Linked DNA regions of Homo sapiens: all the other regions are linked to region 3. Evidence: promoter capture Hi-C in 16 types of primary human blood cells and fetal thymus (Javierre and others, 2016). All regions are on one chromosome and are shown on one strand. Each heading gives the region's core, a stretch centred on a gene start or on the middle of the fragment in contact. The rest is flanking DNA. Distances are from core to core; before and after follow the strand shown.

What was found. The method cuts DNA at HindIII sites, captures the fragments that hold promoters and counts their contacts. A CHiCAGO score of 5 or more calls a contact.
Region 1: a fragment that was not itself captured here is called in contact with the fragment with the promoter of LIME1 in region 3 in 1 of 17 cell types (monocytes); the score reaches 5.9 in monocytes.
Region 2: a fragment that was not itself captured here is called in contact with the fragment with the promoter of LIME1 in region 3 in 1 of 17 cell types (monocytes); the score reaches 6.0 in monocytes.
Region 4: a contact is called between a fragment that was not itself captured here and the fragment with the promoter of LIME1 in region 3, in 5 of 17 cell types (naive CD4 T cells, M2 macrophages, monocytes and 2 more). The highest score is 7.4, in naive CD4 T cells.

Annotation. Positions count from the first base shown.
Region 1 is chr20:63,597,358-63,600,237 of GRCh38, forward strand. GMEB2 (glucocorticoid modulatory element binding protein 2) reads right to left here. Exons shown (of 10, transcript NM_012384.5): 5 at 400-503. Among named protein-coding and RNA genes, the nearest start is that of HELZ2, 25 kb to the left of the region's middle. RefSeq lists an enhancer at 449-618. The HindIII fragment of the contact is 2,033 bases long and covers 531-2,563 here.
Region 2 is chr20:63,935,790-63,939,064 of GRCh38, forward strand. DNAJC5 (DnaJ heat shock protein family (Hsp40) member C5) reads left to right here. Exons shown (of 5, transcript NM_025219.3): 5 at 1-222. Among named protein-coding and RNA genes, the nearest start is that of MIR1914, 4.1 kb to the right of the region's middle. The HindIII fragment of the contact is 5,075 bases long and covers 1-3,275 here.
Region 3 is chr20:63,735,331-63,738,597 of GRCh38, forward strand. LIME1 (Lck interacting transmembrane adaptor 1) reads left to right here and starts at 1,334. Exons shown (of 6, transcript NM_017806.4): 1 at 1,334-1,382; 2 at 2,203-2,317; 3 at 2,491-2,572; 4 at 2,643-2,730; 5 at 2,853-3,169. The coding sequence starts at 2,220. ZGPAT (zinc finger CCCH-type and G-patch domain containing) reads left to right here. Exons shown (of 7, transcript NM_181485.3): 6 at 1-234; 7 at 451-812. The coding sequence ends at 589. RefSeq lists enhancers at 760-939, 1,519-2,435, 2,635-3,229 and silencers at 2,370-2,589, 2,660-2,809, 2,890-2,949. The HindIII fragment of the contact is 14,127 bases long and covers 1-3,267 here.
Region 4 is chr20:63,577,212-63,580,063 of GRCh38, forward strand. No RefSeq gene overlaps it. Among named protein-coding and RNA genes, the nearest start is that of HELZ2, 4.4 kb to the left of the region's middle. The HindIII fragment of the contact is 4,805 bases long and covers 1-2,852 here.

The sequences.
Region 1 (2,880 bases), core at 297-2,796, 140 kb before region 3:
CTCATTATTGTGCCCAGGCTGGTCTCAAACTCTTGGCGTCAAGTGATCCTCCTGCCTCAGCCTCCTAAAGTGTTGGGATTGCAGGTGTGAGCCATGTGCCCAGCCAACCCTTTATTTTACAACGCTGAAACAGTCACAAGTGCCTTCAGGTAAAGAATTGGTGGAAATTAAAATGACTGACAAAACAATTCTAAAAATCTGATAGTGTCCCTGTTGGCAGGAGTGTGGGAGACGGGTTTACAGTTTTGGGTGTGAGCAGGTGCAGCAGCCACCCGGGAGGTTGTCAGCACTCACCACATCTAAAATACGCCTCATCTTCAAAATCCCAAAACCCCACAAGAAAGCAAGAGCTGCCAGGGCCCCTTCCAGCAGGGAGGCTGACCCTGCGCCAGCGCCCACCTGAGCATGATGCCGTTCATGCGGATGGCTCTCTTCCAGTCCTTCAGGGTGGACTTCCCGGCCAGGTGCACAAATTCCTTTGGGCTGATTACATGCTCGTCGTACTGTGGGGGACACAGTCATGTGGGTCAAGCTTGGCCGGGACACCACATAGGGTGCCCCCATCTCCCATCCGACCCTGAGTCAGGCGCGCAAGGCAGGAAAAGCGCCACGGCACGGCTCTGACCGGTGCAGGCCTCCTACAGAGCATTCAGGTAAAACAAGGACATGACCCACAGGCACGGTGGCTGCAGTGGGGAGTGGTGTCTCCTCCAGCCCTGAGGGGGCAGAGCTGCTGTGTGCCTGGGGCTAGACAGGGCTGGGCTGACCACACCAGGTAGAAGGTGTGTGGCCTTCTCTTCCTCCAGGCAGACTAAGCAAACTGCTTCTGTGCAATGTATTTTATAAATACACGTTATTGCATACGTTACATCGCAGATGGCAACAGATGCCAGCACATGGGTGGAGCTGTGAACGCCACCTTCCTCAGGTCCCTCCTGACACCACCTTGCCCCGTGCAGCAAACACCGGCACCTGCTCTCACTCTGACACACACACACACACACACACACACACACTCATCTGTTTCTAAGCCAGGGGAACCCTCCTGCTTGCTAATTTCACCCATGTGGGAGCTCAGAGAAACTGAGAAGGTAAAATATCCTGTTCAATCTTGTTACACAAGCAATTATTGAAACCAAAAACTGGAATAAAACTGCATTTACTTAGAAAACAAGCAGGCTGGGGATGGAGGAGTCACGAGGTCTCTGCAGCTGGACCCAGGAGGCCCGAGTACGGGGGCCGCCTCCACCCCCGGGCCGTGCCCAAGTCTAGCTTGCTGAAGGAAGTGATGTTCCCAATCCCTGAGCCCACCCTCTCATGACCCCTGTGCCACAGACGGGAACACTAAGCCCAGCCAGTCTCTGGCTCTCCCTCATGCGGCTGATCAGGGAGATCCCATAGAAGTCCAGAAGGTGGAATCCAGAAGATTCTCTGGCCACTGTCGGAGCCTGGCAGGAAGGCTGCACTGGCTGTGACTGAGGCTGCTTCCGGCCATCACTTCTACCCAACGTGGCTCACACCTAGGAAACTCAACTGCACCCAAAGGGCCTGATCCTACCTAGGGCTCTGGGCTCAGCCAGCCTCACCTCCCTGCCCCTCCTAGGCCTGCCTCTTTCCTTTCTTGCTTTCACCTTTGTTACTCTTCTCACCCCAGGTTTTCCTCTCCCAGCTAGGAAGCTACATGCTGTACTCTCATGAGTGGCTCCAGGAGCTTCAGCATGTCACGCTTACCAGAGCTGCCAGAGCCCAGAGCTAACGCGGCCACTCCTGACCCCCCAGAGCTAACGCAGCCGCTCCTGACCCTCCAGCGCTAACGCGGCCCGCTCCTGACCCCCCGGAGCTAACGTGGCCGCTCCTGACCCCCCGGAGCTAACTCGGCCCGCTCCTGACCCTCCAGACCACAGCCACGTGGCCCTGCTCTCATCTCTGAGGCCCTCCAGGGCGTCTCTCTCGATGCTGAATAGACAGGACTGGTCGGGTGACCCACGTTTCCCCGACTCTTCACACCTCCTCACAGCACAGCGCTTCCATCTGGAGGCCTCCTATCTCCGCCTGCAATGCATATTTAGAACATCCTTCCATCATGATCTGCTGGTGGCAAACTCGTGTCTTTTTCTGGAAACGTCTTTCTTCCAGCATAATTTCAAAGACGACCTCACGGTGTCGTCACTCGCCACACAGTGAGGCTCTGGCGCTGCCACCTCTGCTCCTGCGCTGCTTTCGGGAGCTCACGGCCGGCGGGATTCTTGCTACTGAGCGATCCGTCTCTCCTCCTGGCTAGACTGAGGATCTTCTCTGTCCCCGTCCTTCTGGAATTTCATTATGATGTCACCTATGGTACATTTCTTTCGTGTTTCCAACTTCTAATTCTAATACAATTTCAAACTCACAGGGTAATTGCCAGGATAGTCCAGGGAGCTCTCACACGTGCGTTCCGGACTCACTGCCTGCTCCCGTCTGCCCCCTTGCCCCCGCCTAGACCTGTGCACGTGCAGCTACTGAGAGTGAAGCAGAGACGTCGGGCCCCTGGGCCCTCAACACTTGTGTATATTTCCTAAGAACAAGCTTCTCTTACGCAGCCACAGAACAACTCGCATCAGGAAATTATCATTCATACATTATTCTCTAATCCATTGTCCATAGTCAAATTCATGAATTGTTCCAATGATAGCCTTTATTGCAAAAAAAAAATTTTTTTTTTTGAGATGGAGTCTCACTCTGTCGTCCAGGCTGGAGTGCACTGGTGCAATCTTGGGCTCACTGCAACCTCCGCCTCCCGGGTTCAAGAGATTCTCTTGCCTCAGCCTCCCGAGTAGCTGGGAGTACAGGCACATGCCACCATGCCTGGCCAATTTTTTTGTATTTGTCGCAGAGATGGGG
Region 2 (3,275 bases), core at 265-2,764, 200 kb after region 3:
TTTTTAAAAATCAAATGCACACGCATGGAAGCTGCTTGTCCATGCACTGGTTTTGTCACTGGCGTCCTGGAATCCGACCGTGTTGGGGTGCAGGCGCTGTCAGACTCCGGCTGATCCTGGCTCGAGCACACACATCTAAGGGCCAGGCTGGTTCCGCATGGTGATCTCCGTCTTGTATGTCTGAATGTTGGCCTAAAATAAAGATTACTGTTGTAAAATAAATGTTTTCACTGCGGACCCCACGTATGTCTTACTCGCTAGTCCCGCAGATCCCTGGTTTTGGAGAGCAGCAGCTGATCTCAGCCCTCCACACCCCTTGCGGCTGGAACCTTGCTTCCCTCCTGCCTGGTCCAGATGTGGATAAATGCCCCCTCCTCTTGATTGTGTTTTCACCTCCGTTTTCTAAATACCAAGACTGGAGCAAAGAGGCCAAGCGTGGTGGCTCATGCCTATAATCCCAGCACTTTGGGAGGCCAGTGTGGGAGGATTGCTTTGAGCCCAGGAGTTCAAGACCAACCTGGGCAACAGTGAGATCGTGTCTCTACAAAAAAGAGTTTAAAATTATCTGGGTGTAGCCGTGCCTGAGGTCCCAGCTCGTCAGGAGGGAAATCACTTGAGCATGGGAAGTCCACGCTACAGTGAGCTGTGGTCACACCACCGAACTCCAGCCTGGGTGACAGAGGGAGATCCTGTCAACAAACTAACAAAAACTCAGAATAACGTAACAAACATCTTGAAATCCTCTATTCTGACTTAAGAAAAACGAAGGAAGGGCCAGGCATGGTGGCTCACGCTTGTAATCCCCAGCACTTTGGGAGGCCGAGGTGGGTGGATCATGAGGTCAGGAGATCTGAGACCATCCTGGCCAACATGGTGAAACCCCGTCTTTACTGAAAATACAAAAAAAATTAGCTGAGCGTGGTGGTGCGTGCCTGTAGTCCCAGCTACTCAAGAGGCTTAGGCAGGAGAATCGCTAGAACCCGGGAGGTGGAGGTTGCAACGCACCGAGATCGTGCCACCGCTCTCCAGCCTGGGTGGGAGAGCGAGACTCCGTCTCAAAAAAAAAAAAAAATTTGAGTCAGATTTTCCATTTTAAAAAAATGGCAGCATCCAAGACCGTTTTGCGTCTCTCCCCATTTCCATCCTCTGCTTCCATAGCTTTAAACTCTGTCTACCACTGTCAGGTCCAGTAAGACGTACTATTGGTTTATACCTTTTTACATAAATTGTACTACACCATAGTACTGAGTACACCACCTGCCTTATGAGTTTGTTTGTTTTTTTTTTTTTTGAGATGGAGTCTCGCTCTGTCACCCAGGCTGGAGTGCAGTGGCGCGATCTTGGCTCACTGCAACCTCCGCCTCCTGGGTTCACGCCATTTAGGAAAACGCATGCCTCACCCTCCCGAGTAGCTGGGACTACAGGCGCCCGCCACCACGCCTGGCTAATTTTTTGTATTTTTAGTGGAGATGGGGTTTCACCGTGTTAGCCAGGATGGTCTCGGATCTCCTGACCTTGTGATCTGCCCACCTCGGCCTCCCAAAGTGCTGGGATTACAGGCATGAGCCACCGCGCCCGGCCTGTTTTTGTTTTTGAGACGGAGTCTTTGTGGCCCAGGCTGGAGTGCAGTGGCACAATCTCGGCTCACTACAACCTTCATCTCCTGGGTTGAAGTGATTCTTGTGCCTCAGCCTCCTGAGTAGCTGGGATTACAGGCATGTGCCACCACGCCTGGCTAACTTTTTGTATTTAGTAGACGGGGTTTCACCATGTTGGCCAGCCTGATCTTGAACTCCGGACCTCAGGTAATCCGCCCGCCTCGGCCTCCCAGGGTGCTGGGATTACAGGCGTGAGCCACTGCACCAGGCCTAAGTTTTTCATTTGATACAGTAGTAGTTAAGAAATCAAGCCGTGTGGTTATATTAGGTCTGGTTCATTTTAGCTTCTGTACAGAACAGTCACGAATTAATCACAGTCGGTCCTGGGCAAACTGACCACAGGTTTTTAGTTTCTCACTGTGGAAACAAAGCTGCCTGAATGTCGCTGCTGAGTTGTCTCGGGTGGGATCGCTGGGAGCGGGATCTGGAAGCCTTCCCTTGACTGGTGGCCCCACACTGCCCTGCAAAGAGGCTCCCCATCTTCTCGCTGCCCCTTCTAGCCTTAGCGTTGTCAGACGTTTTTTTCTGGCTTGGTCTTTGAATTTTCTTAATTAAGTAGAATCCACGTTTATTAAGTTCAGTTTTTTTTTTCTTTTTCCTTTGAGACAGAGTCTTGCTCTGTCATCCAGGCTGGTGTGCAATGGCGCGATCTCGGTTCACTGCAGCTTCCGCCTCCTGCGTTCAAGCGATTCTTGTACCTCAGCCTCCCGAGTAGCTGGGACTAAAGGCGCGCCACCACGCCCAGCTAATTTTTTGTATTTTTAGTAGAGACGGGGGTTTCACCATGTTGGCCAGGCTGGTCTCGAACCTATGTAGGCCTCCCAAAGTGCTGGGATTACAGGTGTGAGGCAGCGCGCCCGGCCTATGTTAAGTATTTTATATATGGGATTCTTACAGAGAAATGTTAACAGCAAGCCGAGCACTGGACACTGGGTGGCGGGCAGCAAGACCCTTGCCAGGGAGGGTTGTCGGCCCTGTTTCTCCTGGTCCAGGGGACCGCGGTTAACAGGCGCTGCGGCAAAACTCTCCGTCCGCCCAGCGCCCCAGGAATCTCCTCCGTCTCCAAGACGGGGTCGGACCACCCTCCCCGCTCCCCCCGGCTATGCCTTCCTTGCGCCCCGCTCTCCGTGACCGAGGAACGCCAGGAAGGGACCACTTCTAGCGCCAGCCCCGCTGCTCAGGGTCGGGTGGGGGGCGGGGCCAGCGCGGGGGCGGGGCCGGCTCAGGGGCGTGGTCACTCGGTGGGGCCCAGCGGGACCTGGCCTACCAGGCGGAGCGGGGGCTGGGCAGGGGCGTGGCCAATCGGGACCGGTGGGGCGGGCGAGTGGCGGGAGCGCTGCACCCGCAGATGGGCCCCCCACGTGGGGACCAGCGCCCACCCGGCCTGGTCGCATGGGCAATGGGAGACCCCACTGCAGCGCAAGGTCTCGCGGCATCTGGGAAGACCGGCCTTACGCCGTCCCTCCCTTCGTCAGCAGACCCCTGTCCAGGATCCGGGATCCGGCATAATCGAGGTGCCAGGCTCCGAGGACGCCACGCTTTTGGCCGTGGACTTCCACGCAGAAAGACACTGGCGCCTGAGAGGACGGGGACGACCGTGTCCCGTGTCAGATGCGC
Region 3 (3,267 bases), core at 84-2,583:
CCCAGCTCCTCGGAATGTGTTTGACTTCCTCAATGAAAAGCTGCAAGGTCAGGCTCCTGGGGCCCTAGAAGCCGGGGCGGCCCCAGCGGGGAGGAGGAGCAAGGACATGTACCATGCCAGCAAGAGTGCCAAGCGGGCCCTGAGCCTGCGGCTCTTCCAGACTGAGGAGAAGATCGAGCGAACCCAGCGGGACATCAGGAGCATCCAGGAGGCTCTCGCCCGCAACGCTGGCCGGTACGTGTGGGGCCCAGCTCAGGGCAAAGGGCGACCCAGGGTGGCCCTGCCCCCGGGATACATGCTGGAGGTCACCTGACCCAAGCATAGCGGGCTGAGTCCAGGAGGGGTCTGCATGTTGGAGGACGGGCAGCGGGCACACAGGCAGTGGGTACGGCAGACTGGGGTTGGTGGCATGGCCCAGGACCCCACGCTGACTAGTGAGCCCCTCCGCAGGCATAGCGTGGCGTCAGCCCAGCTGCAGGAGAAGCTGGCAGGAGCCCAGCGCCAGCTGGGGCAGCTCCGGGCTCAGGAAGCCGGCCTGCAGCAGGAGCAGAGGAAGGCAGACACCCACAAGAAGATGACTGAGTTCTAGAGACCCCACAAGCACTATGGACGAAGCGTGGGACCCCAGCACGGGCTGCCCTCAGGAAGACCAGTGTTGCCCGAGGAGGGGCCGGCCTGCTGGCCTGGGGCGTGCAGACACTGCTGAGTGGAGACAGAGCTGCGGGGTCCCATCTGGACACTTACTTGCCCACCTGCCAGTGTCTTGGGCATTTCCTTGGCAAGGACATTAAAGTGATTTCATCACAGTGTCATTCAGTGGAGATCAGCTGGCTGCAGGGTCTCTGGGGAGAGAAGGGTCTGTGCAGGGCTGTGGTGAGAGACGGGCTGGGCTGGAGGGGCCTAGGAGGCCGGCATTCTCCCTTCTTACCCTTCTCTGACCAAGGCAGATCGGAGGCCAGGGTGCCCGCCAGGCTGCCTGACACCCACAGATGGGTGGAGCTCAGTGCTGCTCCAGCGGGCGAGACGGGCGGGAGAGGACTGTGGCCCACCACGTGGGGCACTCTTGGTGAGGCAGGCGGACCTGGCCCTGTGGGTTTGGGGGTTCTGTGCCAGCTCTGCTCACGTCTTCGTGTGTGGAGGGGTTGTGAGTTAGGCTGTCAGAACAGTGCGGGCTAGAGGCGCACACGTTTCATCTAGGCTTCGGGCGGGGCGCAGCAGGTGGGTGAGGCTGCGGTGGTGGCTGCTGCCCAGGGTGGGAGGCTCAGGGGAGGCGCTTGGCGACAGGAGCAGGAAGTGATGAGGTGGGGAGCTCAGCCGAGGGCTGCACAAAGACCTTCCTGGCCTGCCCCAGACAGAGCTGAGGACCCCTGGCCGTGGGCTTGGTAAGTGCCCTCCTGGGGGGCAGCTGGGGTCTGGGAGGCCTTGGGATGTGGCTGCAGCTGGGTCAGTCAGCCAGGCTGAAGCCCACTCCCTGGGTCTGAGCAGACTGGCCCCAAACTCCAGAGACCACCCCTCACCCCCCAGCTTCTGTCTCTGCTGCTGGACTGTGCTGTTTGTAAGGCATCCCCCACCCCGAGAAGTTCTGCTAAGATCCCCAAGAAGGGGACAGATCCTCTCTGGCAGAGACACTGGCAGACAAGAAGAGCCAGAGAGAAGTGGGGTGGGGGCATCAGCACCCCCAGCAGCTGCTGCTGCCTGCTGACCCAGCCTCCAGCTCCTCCGGGTGCAGGGTCCCTCCTGCTGACCAGCCTCCAGCTCTTCCCAGTTCTGGGCTCCGCAGCGAGCGGCTTGGGGGCACTACCTGACACAGGAGACCATGTCTGGGCAGAGGGTGGCTGCAGGTGGAGTCTGTGGCCTGTGGCGCACACCCAGGGGCTCCCCCGATGCTGGTTACTATCTGGGCTATGGTGGCCACAGCTGTCTTGCCCCTCCTCACGGCCGTGCTGGGTGTTACCGTGGTCACCCGCAGGGACACGGAGGGGCCAGGCAGAGCAGCCCTAGTTCACCTCACCGGGAGCCCCCGCCAGAAGGTGGGCACCTCTGGGAGGGAGGGACTGCCAGGCCTTGGGGCTTCCTGTGCTGAGTCAGAGCTGGAACGGGAGACGCAGGAGCCCCGCAGCCGCGGGAGGTGCAGATTTGGGGCTGCCAGGTGGCGCCAGGTCCCCTTGGCCAGCCCCCAGCGCCCCTTTCTTCTGTCCCCAGGGCCTCGGCTTCACAGGATGGGGCTGCCAGTGTCCTGGGCCCCTCCTGCCCTCTGGGTTCTAGGGTGCTGCGCCCTGCTCCTCTCGCTGTGGGCGCTGTGCACAGCCTGCCGCAGGTAGGTCCCTCAGCCGCGTTCTGTCTGGGGCCTCGCTGCGGCTGCCATTCACAGCCCAGCGCGGGAAGGGGCTGGAGGCAGGTCCGCGCACCCAGCTCGGCACGCGCGCCTGCACCGGGCCTTGGACCCGAGGCTGACGACCCCGCCCCCCGCCCCCCACCTCTACCCCCAAGGCCCGAGGACGCTGTAGCCCCCAGGAAGAGGGCGCGGAGGCAGCGGGCGAGGCTGCAGGGCAGTGCGACGGCGGCGGAAGCGGTGAGTGCCAGGCTGTCCCGGGGACCAGGGTGGGGTCCGCAGGGCACCGACCAGCCTTCCTCGCCCCCAGTCCCTACTGAGGCGGACCCACCTCTGCTCCCTCAGCAAGTCGGACACCAGACTGCACGAGCTGCACCGGGGCCCGCGCAGCAGCAGGGGTGAGCAGAGGGCGGGGCGGGGGCGGCCGGGCGGGGCTTACTGTGCAGCGCGTGCCAACCCCTGGGCCAGACCCGCTCCTGCCCCCTGCCCGGAGTGAACTCTGCCCTGACCCCACCCCCAGCCCTGCGGCCTGCCAGCATGGATCTCCTGCGCCCACACTGGCTGGAGGTGTCCAGGGACATCACCGGACCGCAGGCAGCCCCCTCTGCCTTCCCACACCAGGAGCTGCCCCGGGCTCTGCCGGCAGCTGCAGCCACCGCAGGGTGCGCTGGCCTCGAGGCCACCTATTCCAACGTGGGGCTGGCGGCCCTTCCCGGGGTCAGCCTGGCGGCCAGCCCTGTGGTGGCCGAGTATGCCCGCGTCCAGAAGCGCAAAGGGACCCATCGCAGTCCCCAAGAGCCACAGCAGGGGAAGACTGAGGTGACCCCGGCCGCTCAGGTAACGTGGGCCAGGGTAGGGCGCTGTGGGTGGGGCCGGCAGATCCTCAGCAGGTTGGATGGTGCTGACCCCTCCTCGGGTTGGCTTCCTGTCTCCAG
Region 4 (2,852 bases), core at 342-2,841, 160 kb before region 3:
GGCGTGAGCCACCGCGCCTGGCCCTGATCTCTCTAATATTTTAAAGATCTTATAAATTAAGAAAAAGATGTATAATTTAAAAGAAAAATAGGCAAAGGATGCAAATCAATACTTCACAAAACGTGGAAAGTGAAATTGCTGTAAATGGAGTGAAGTGTTCAACCTCGGCGTAAGGGAAACGCAAACCAGCCCCAGACAACCCGTCCACCCCTCTGACATTGCAGGCACTCGGCCAGAGTCTAAACTGGCAGCACCGCTCTGGAAACCAGCCAGGCCCGGGAGCACAGGACACGCGCCTTCCACGTGGCTCCACAGAGGCTCCTGCACAGAGGGACATCTGTGCCCACCAACAGCTCCCGGCAGCTCCTTCTACACCCAATGGACCGGGAATGCCCAGGGCCCCTCGCTCAGGGTCTATGTAATGGGCAGTCTCCACCCTGTGCCATGGAAGACTCTAAGGCCATTAAAAATGAGGTTGGCCAGGCACGGTGGCTCACACCTGTGATCCCAGCAATTTGGTAGGCTGAGGCGGGAGGATCACTTGAGCCCAGGAGTTCAAGACCTCAGTAAGCTGTGATGGTGCCAGTGCACTCCAGCCTGGGAGACAGATCAGGACTGTGCGGCCAGGACAGGAGGGAGATGTCCTGTTTCCGCCCACCTTTCACATCTGTGCACGTCTTCTTAACTCAAAACAAAAACAAAAAGTGCCACCTCGAGTCCACAGAGCATTGAAAACCTGCAGGTTGCCGTGGACAGCTCTCTGGCTCCCGTCCAGCTGTGCTCAGGCCACAGTGACCCCTAACACGGGCTGAGTGTGAGACCACGGGAGAGAGTTCCACGTACACACAGCACACGGCCAACACGCTCACACGGGCTGAGTGTGACACCACGGGACAGAGTTCCACGTACACACAGCACACGGCCAACAACACGCTCACACGGGCTGAGTGTGAGACCACGGGACAGAGTTCCACGTACACACAGCACACGGCCAACAACACGCTCACACGGGCTGAGTGTGAGACCACGGGAGAGAGTTCCACGTACACACAGCACACGGCCAACAACACGCTCACACGGGCTGAGTATTAGTAATATTATTGTATCCACGTCAGCTTCCTGACTTTGTAACAGACAGCTTCCACGTTCTGAGGAAACACACCTTGAAGTGATGGGGTAAAGGGTGAAGGGTGAAGGGTGAAGGGGTATCGTATCTGAAAGGTGAAGGGGTATCGTGTCTTAGTCTCAATTGCCTGGAACTACAGGCTTCTACAGAACCGGCAAATGGGCCAGAACAAAGCGACTGGTGAGTCCGCATAGAGCACAGGGAGTCCTTTGTTCTATTTTTGCAACATTTGTGTACGTTTGTTTAAATTATTATATCAAAATACAAAGTAAGAAATGTCTGCCCAACACCCTCAGCTTGTCTCATCCCGGTCCCTAGGTCCTCCTCACCCAGCGTCCCTGCCAGTGGGTTCCATGGCCCCCCAGTGCCAGCCTGCCGTCTGCTGCCCTCTGCCGTCTGCCATCACCTGAACCCTGCAGGAAAACGTACACACTGTCCCCAGCGTCACGAAGCAGGTGGAGGTCCCCAGGGCTTAGGGCCAGGCCTCAGTTTACCTGTGACTGTGGGCCATGTGCTCTCGGGCAGGAACTGACGGCCTCTGGGTATAACTCGCTTAAGCAGGTCTTTAACACCCGGTTCCCATCTTTCCAGAGACCCTCCCGGGCGCCCTCCCACCAGCCAAAAGCTCACACCCCTAGTGGAGGAGGTGATAGGGTCTGCAGTGGGAGGGAGTGGAGCCGATTTCAGATCTCCTCCTCTTGGCCTTGTGGGAGCCGTGCAGCCGGGAGGCCTCCTTCGAGATGAGCCCCTGGGGAGAAAGTCAGGGGGACCACACCTTCTCCTTGCAGGGGTGCCAGAAGGATCTGATGGGGGTTTAGTCCCAGGATGGGTCTACGCCCCCCGGGGCCTCCCAGCTGCTCTGTCCTCTCTCCCTGCCTGGCCTCTGCACACACAGCCATGTGCGTGTGACATTGTGAAATATACATTAACATATTTGGTCTCGTCCCGTTTCCTGGCAAAAACCCCTAAAATCCCTGGAGTAGCCAAAGTGGCAAGTGCCTTTTTGTGCTGATATTGACCGAAGGCTGGCAGCCTGGAGGCAGCCTCAGGATGGGGCTGGTCCTCAGAAAGGCCTCAGCAGGAGTAGAGGGTGGTACTTGCAGCCTTGCCCCAACCTCCAGGCAGGGGAGGGGAGAGGCGGCTGAAGGCGGTCCTCACCAGTGGCCAGTGACGTAATCAATCATGCCTGGGTAATGAAGCCTCCATGAAGTCGCAAAAGGACAGGGCTCAGAGAGCCGTGGAGGTTCCTGGACGGGGTGCCCTTGTGGGGTGAAAGCTCTGCGCCCCTCCCCTTACGCATCTCTTCATCTGCGTCCTTTGTAACGTCCTTTATAATAAATGGGTAAACATGTTTCCCTGAGTTCTGTGAGCTGCTCTAGGAAATTAATCTGACCCAAATATGGGGGTTAGGAACCTCAATTTATAGCCAATTGGTCTGAAGCACCCGGGGCTTGAGATTGGCATGGGGAGTGGGCAGCAGCCTTGTGTGGACATCTCCAGGTAGATGAGGATGTCTAAGGACAGATGGCGTCTCCAGCTAGATGGTGTCTCCAGGTAGACAACAACGTCTATGAATTGACGGTGTCTCCAGGTTAACAACAATGTCTCCAGGTTAACAACAATGTCTCCAGGTAGACAACAATGTCTATGAATTGATGGTGTCTCCAGGTTGACAACAATGTCTATGAATTGATGGTGTCTCCAGGTTGACAACAGTGTCTCCAGG